2 separate regions of the Homo sapiens genome follow, and region 1 is linked to region 2. Evidence: promoter capture Hi-C in human tissues and cell types (Jung and others, 2019). All regions are on one chromosome and are shown on one strand. The core of a region is centred on a gene start or on the middle of the fragment in contact, and the rest is flanking DNA. Distances in the headings are between cores, read along the strand shown.

Region 1 (3,649 bases), core at 130-2,629, 130 kb after region 2:
TGTTCTCAGAATGACCTGCCCAAGTCAGGGCCTCATGTATTACATATCCTAAGACCTGCACATGCATTAATACTATAAAAGAGGTTTTGTGAGAGAGACAAATACAAACACCATGAGGTCACTTCTTCCAGAGTATAACAGGATGCAGACTCTTGGAAGAAATTGTATAAATGTCCTCTTGGAAAATTTTGTCTCTGAGTACAGAGCACATTATAAATTTTTCCAAAGCTTTCCAACATACAGTACATCAAACAGTGTGCCTTTTCTTTTCTTTCCTTTTTCTCTCATACTCCCTCTCTCTCTTTTTAAATACTTCTATTTTCAGAGAAAAGAGGAAAACCTGGGAGGAGCTTTCAGTTACTAATTATTTCCAGCATCAATGTTTGGTCTTAAAGCCATAGTTCGTTTGTAGAGAGGACAATGTAATGGTTCCAGAAATCTAGGTCCTAGTCCTACTTGCCCAGCTGGGTGAACAGTTCAGTTTTTTCAGCCATCTTCATGTGCCAAGGAGGACAGTAGGACATGCAGTTATATGAACACTGAAGTGGAAATCAGGAGACCTGAAATTTATTAAACAATTCTACAAACAATGGTAATGTGATGAAATAACTATTTTCAATCAAGTGTACTAGTTTCCTGGTGCCATGTGGTGGAGGCTCCATGAACAGTTGTTGAATGAATGACTAGGTAAACAATCATGAATACATAAATGCCTAGTATATACAATAGTCAATCAACAGTGAGCAGAATTTCGAGGAGGCATTGTGATCACTGTACTTACAGGCTGCAGGGAGTACTGATGGAAGTGTGTAACTTGTTGTGGGAACAAAGGGATGACTCCAGGGGAAATGTAAGGGCTATGAGTTAACTCAGGTCTGTTGCTGCTACTAAATTATGCTGCCTGCTATTGTGAGTGAATCGCCCTCTCTGAGCCCCGGTTTCTTTACCTATAAATGAAGTGCTTGGACTAGATAATCTCTAAGAACACTTCCATCTCTGTAGGTTTACTTGTATAGTGCAGCACATAACAACTTAGGAACCCTAGACTTAGAATTTTCGGTTAACACTCAAAGCTAAGTCCTCACACCAGGAAGAAGATATCAAACACATAAGAAACTGTACGGCCGGGCGCGGTGGCTCACGCCTGTAATCCCAGCACTTTGGGAGGTCAAGGCAAGTGGATCAACTGAGGTCGGGAGTTCGAGACCAGCCTGACCAACATGGAGAAACCCCGTCGCTACTAAAAATCCAAAAAGTTAGCTGGGCGTGGTGGTGCATGCAGGTAATCCCAGCTACTCAGGAGGCTGAGGCAGGAGAATTGCTTGGACCCAAGAGGTGGAGGTTGCAGTGAGCTGAGATCGCACCATTGCACTCTAGCCTGGGCAACAAGAGCAAAATGCCATCTCAAAAAATAAAGAAATAAATAAAAATTTAAAAATACAAAGTAAATTGTACAGTTTTTTTCTTATACACAGTAGTGCTATATTTCCTTTGGTGTTTTAGTCAAGGGTTTGACTGCTTGGTTAACTATTGAGTCAATTTCCAGAAATACTATATTTGTTTAAGATCTTTGACTTCCATCCTAGCATCTAGATAATTAATTTTCTTTCATTAAGAGCCTCAAAGACGGTCATTGTTGGCCTTCAGTCTTTATTTTTGACCAATAGTTTTCATTCATGACTGCACATTAATGTCATCTGTGCAGTTTTTAAAACCCATCCAGGCTCTATTCTCTGAGATTCTGATTTAATTGGAGTGGAGTCTAGACATCATTTGTTTGTTTGTTTTTTAATGCTATTCAGGCGATTCTACTCCATACTCAGGACTGATTACTACCACGCTGGAACAGTGCTTCTTAAATTATTGTGTGCAAATGGGCCAGCTAAGAATCTTGTTAAAAATGAAGATTCTGATTCACTGGGTCTGAACTCAGGGTCTGAGGTTCTGTGTTTGTAATAAACTCCCAGGTTACGTTGGTGCTCTGACCTCTGCTCCTAGAAGTGTGGTCCATGGACCAAGATCATCTGGAAGGTAGACAGAATGCAGAATCTCAGGTACCACCCCAGAAGTACTGGATTGATCGGGGTTCTCCAAAGAATTGGCTCACAAAATTATGGAGTCTGACAATTCCCAAAATATGCTGTCAGCAGGCCGGAGACCCAAGAGAGCCAATGGTATAGTTTCAGTGTGAAGGGCTATAGGCTCAAGACCCAAGATGCTTCAGTTTTAGTTCGAAGGAATACATCAATTGATATGCCAGCTCAAGACAGTTAGGCAGGAGGAAATTCACTGCTACTCATGAAAGGTTCAGCCTTTACTTCTATTGAGGTCTTCAACTGATTGAATGTGCCCCATTCATGTTAGAGGGCAACCCGCTTTATTTTTTATTCAGTTCAATTATTCAAATGTTAATCTCATCCAAAAGCACCCTCATGGACACACCCAAAATAATGTTTGATCAAATATCTGGGCACCCCAGTGTGCTAGTCAAGTTGACATAAAATGAACCATCGCACCTAGAGAATCAGCATGCGGTTTAACATATTATACATATGCAGAAATTTAATACACATACTAAAGTTTAAGAAGCTCTGCACTATAATAACTATTCTCAAACTTTTTGGTCTCTTGACCTCCTTATACTCTTGAAAATATTGAGGATTCCAAAGTGCTTCTGTTTATGTAGGTTACATCTATTGCTATTTCCTATATTAGAAATGAAAACTGGGGACTTTCCAAATTATTTATTTATTTTATTTAATAAACCCATTATATGTTAACATAAATCACATAATTATAAACAATAACTTTTTTTTTTTTTGAGATCAAGTCTCATTCTGTTGCCCAGGCTGGAGTGTGGTGGTGCGATTTCAGCTCACTGCAAACTCTGCCTCCCGGATTCAAGCGATTCTCCTGCCTCAGCCTCCTGAGTGACTGGAATTACAGGGGCATACCGCGACCGGCTAATTTTTTGTATTTTTAGTAAAGACAGGGTTTCACCATGTCGGTCAAGCTGATTTGTAACTCCTGACCTCATGTGATGCACCTGCCTTGGCCTCCCAGAATGCTGGGATTACAGGCATGAGCCACCGTGCCTGGCCGAAAAGTAATTATCTTTTTATAAAATAAAAAATTGTGAGAAGAGTGATGTTGTTATACATTTTCGCAAATCTCTTTTATGTCTGGCTTAAAAGAAAGCAGCTGGATGCTCATACTGGCTTCTGAATTTAATTTGCTGCAATATTGCAAATTATGTTGACTCTGGAAAACTGTTCTAATCTCATAAAAAAATAAAAGTGAAACAGCATTCTAATATTATCGCAAAAATGTTTTAATTTGTAATACTCCCTAAAAGTGTTTCAGGATCCTCTAAGGGTGCCTGGATCTCTTTGAGACTGCTGTTCTAGGCTAAAGTTGAGAATCTATATAATTCATTCTAAAAAATTCAGCCTCAAATCTCACCAGCAAATTTGTCACAATTCTACTAAAATTTGGAGCAAAAGCACTTTGTGGAGGAGTCAGCCCTTTCTTCCATCAGCATATTACATAGTACTGCTAGCAGTTTCAAAGACCAGTGCTTAGAATGCCAGTTCAAAAGTTTGCTGTACCCTCAGTGTAGACCAATAATTCTCAGCCTCAGCACTATTGA
Region 2 (3,602 bases), core at 803-3,302:
ATTTATTTATTTGTTGAGATGGGGTCTTGGTCTGTTGCCCAGGCTGGAGTGCAGTGGCACGATCTGGGCTCACTGCCACCTCCGCCTCCCGGGTTCAAGCAATTCTCCTACCTCAGCCTCCCAAGTAGCTGGAATTACAGGCGCCCACCACCATGCCCGGCTAATTTTCATATTGTTAGTAGAGACGGGGTTTCACCATGTTGGCCAGGCTGATCTCGAACTCCTGATCTCAAGTGATCCGCCTGCCTCAGCCTCCCAAAGTGTTGGGATTACAGGCGTGAGCCACTGCGCCTGGCCTGAGCCACCGTGCCCGGGTGTTTAATAATACTTTTAATTCTTAAATGTTTGGAACAAAAAAAAGAAGAAAATGAGATTATATGATTCACATGGTACTGCTCTAGTCCTGCAGCAAATTCCAGTGCCTTCTCTGATCAGGGAATTTTTACAAAATCAAATGTGATTGATACATCTTCATCCACACTGACAGGCACCCACAGAACATCCACTGAGACCTAGACAGTAGTACTGACTGCAGGCCCTAACCCTGGGATACAACACGAACATGGTCTTGTCCTAAACAGCTGATAGGAGAAAGACAGTATTCACTGTGTTAATCTCAGTCCAAATTAATTGTCTTCATCTAGCTCCTGTCTTACATTCTTCATTGCTTGTCCCTAAATCCTAGCACGGCCAAGTCCTTTAGTTTTAAGCCTACATGAAAGGCATCCAGGGAGAGCCAGGTGGAAATGAAGGTGGTGGGGCTTGGCCTTTCTTCCCATTCCCACCTTGAGAATTTGCACCTTTCCTTCTCTGTCACCAACTAGCAGTTGCCATGGTATATAAGGGTATATCTTATTTTATCCTTAATATGTTTATTTCTGCTTCCAAGATGCTTCTGTTTTTACTAAAACCATAGAAGCTTCCCCTCCCACCACACTCGCACCACACACAAAAAGCAGTTGGAAAAACATTTCAATGATTCCTAACCACAACAGCACTTCTGACTAACTACAAAGAAGGAAGCTTTGGAGAAACATAGAGGGAAACTACAGTCCCAGCGAGACCGAAACCGGAGGGGTGAGATAGCCAGTCACAGTAAAAGCTGGAACCAGAGCCCAGACTTCCTCAACTCCAGCCCAGTCCTTTTGCCACTGGGGAAACGCTGTTTACATGTCCTCACCTGCGACGAACAACATTTGATAACTCACAAAATTAACACCTTTCAGGGAGAGCGGGGCACTGGCCAGGTCCCTCTGATAATGAATTGCTGCTCTAAGACATAACTGCTGTGGGGAGGAGGTTGGTGTTTGGCGGGGAAGGGCTGCTAGCCTGCAGTTTCATAAGGACAATAATACATCAAAAAGGACAATCATAGATCAAAGGGGATATTTTGGGTCAACTTGATATGTAGTGGAAAGCAGATTGGGAGGGGAGCCAAGTACTGGATATGCTCCGTGCGTGAGTGTGTCTGTGTGTGTGTGTGTGTGTGTGTGTAAATCATGTTGCTCTCTGGGTCTGTTTCCCAATCTGTAGAGTGTAAAAGTCTCTGAGGCTCCTTGCAGAGACAAGTGATGGAACGACCTTGACAGAAGAGAGCAGAGAGAGGAAAGAAGGGGGAGGAAGCCAAGCAAAGGAGAGAGAAATGGTGTGATGGGGGAGGAGACGCGGAGTTGGGTAGAAATGCCTTTTAATAAGATATTGGGAAAAAAGTATTAAACCTAAAACTGCAGCTCTTGAAGGATCATTTTTTCATCTTTGTGTTAGGATTTACAAGTACAGTGCATAGTAATTTTTGGATAATTGGAGTGAATGAATGAAAAGCGTGAAACGCCTTACAGGAGCGAGAAGATCCACGAGAGAAAGCGAGCAGGGACGCAGCTCTGGTGCCTGGTCCTGCCGGGTGGTCCCCACGCCGCCAGCCGCGCGTTCCCCAACCGGGCGCTCCCGGCGCCCTCTCGGTGAGCCGCCCTGAAACCGCCAGGGGGCGCTCCCCGGCTGCCGGGGCTGAGGCGGGCGGAGCTGCTTTAAATCGCGGCGCCCAGCGGTTCTGCGTCTCAGTTCCCGAGCCTGGGAGCAACCGCAGCTTCTAGTATCCAGACTCCAGCGCCGCCCCGGGCGCGGACCCCAACCCCGACCCAGAGCTTCTCCAGCGGCGGCGCAGCGAGCAGGGCTCCCCGCCTTAACTTCCTCCGCGGGGCCCAGCCACCTTCGGGAGTCCGGGTTGCCCACCTGCAAACTCTCCGCCTTCTGCACCTGCCACCCCTGAGCCAGCGCGGGCGCCCGAGCGAGTCATGGCCAACGCGGGGCTGCAGCTGTTGGGCTTCATTCTCGCCTTCCTGGGATGGATCGGCGCCATCGTCAGCACTGCCCTGCCCCAGTGGAGGATTTACTCCTATGCCGGCGACAACATCGTGACCGCCCAGGCCATGTACGAGGGGCTGTGGATGTCCTGCGTGTCGCAGAGCACCGGGCAGATCCAGTGCAAAGTCTTTGACTCCTTGCTGAATCTGAGCAGTGAGTGCACCCCCACCTCACAGCGGCCGTCCAGAGGCCCCAGTCCCCCTGCAGCTCCCTTATGGGCTCATTCTGTTGTGTGATTCCATGGTTATCAGTCTTCAGTTGATCAAGTCTTCTGATCATGTGCTCTGTCATAAGGAAATGAAGAGAATCCTGGTTTGAGGAAAGCGACGCCCAGGCATAAGCTCTAGTTTTGCCTCTAACTCCCTGGGTGACACTTCTGCCACTCTAGGTGTGGCTTCATCCTAAATTCCTATGCTGGTGGTTCGAGTTGAGGGAGTGAAGGCCAAACTTGAACTTGAGCTCTTAGACCTCTCCTAGGCATTCCGAGATTTGGGGTAAATTGAGGATTGGTAGAGTTCAGACAAGAAAATGGGATGACTGAAAAAGTTTGAAGCCTGGTAACTTCTCAAGTGTGCACGCTTAAATAAATAATCCTCAAGTATTAGATATAACTTTTTAACCTTTAATATGATTTTTTCATAGTAAAAGTTACATTCCTACTGGAAATGTCCTATCTAAGTGTCTTCTGCTTATGCTTGAGGTTGATTCTTTTAATTTATAAGATCCAGTTAGTGCAGGGAGGCCCCTTGCAAGACTCTTTGGAGAAGCTGCTTGAGATTCCCCCGAAGTTTTAATTTTCAGACCCAAGGTCTTCTGTAGAGGCTGACGGTGTAGTGCTATCTTGGAAAGAGAAGGTTGGTGGCAGGTGGGGAAAGGCTGACAAGAAAGGTTCTAAATAACCTGCGCAACATAATACAAAGAAAAAAGTAAAGGCACTGAAGGGAAATGCAGCAAAATAGTCATAGCTGATGAAATCAGAGGTCAGCTGGGAGTGGAAGGCAGTGAGAGAGAAAGAAGAGGTGGGTCTTCCTTAGGTTTCCATCTTCCACAAAGAAATTTCTGTGTAATGGATGTTCAGTGACCCCCTGTAAAACTGGAAAGGATTGTATAGAGAGACATATTTCTAAGGATGGTGGGAAGAAGGATAATAGGATAATTGTTTTACTTTGTTTTTTAAATTAAAGGTTTCGAGTTCCTTGTCCGAAAAGTCATTAAATTCCCATTTACTTAGATAATAATGA

Evidence for each region. The method cuts DNA at HindIII sites, captures the fragments that hold promoters and counts their contacts. A contact is called where the count stands out against the background at its distance.
Region 1: a contact is called between a fragment that was not itself captured here and the fragment with the promoter of CLDN1 in region 2, in 1 of the 25 tissues and cell types used here (lymphoblastoid cells).

What each region holds. Positions count from the first base shown.
Region 1 is chr3:190,189,361-190,193,009 of GRCh38, reverse strand. No RefSeq gene overlaps it. Among named protein-coding and RNA genes, the nearest start is that of P3H2-AS1, 70 kb to the right of the region's middle. RefSeq lists an enhancer at 1-86. The HindIII fragment of the contact is 5,895 bases long and covers 1-3,649 here.
Region 2 is chr3:190,320,896-190,324,497 of GRCh38, reverse strand. CLDN1 (claudin 1) reads left to right here and starts at 2,052. Exons shown (of 4, transcript NM_021101.5): 1 at 2,052-2,514. The coding sequence starts at 2,292. It also overlaps a transcript of CLDN16 not described here. RefSeq lists a silencer at 1,902-2,061. The HindIII fragment of the contact is 5,719 bases long and covers 170-3,602 here.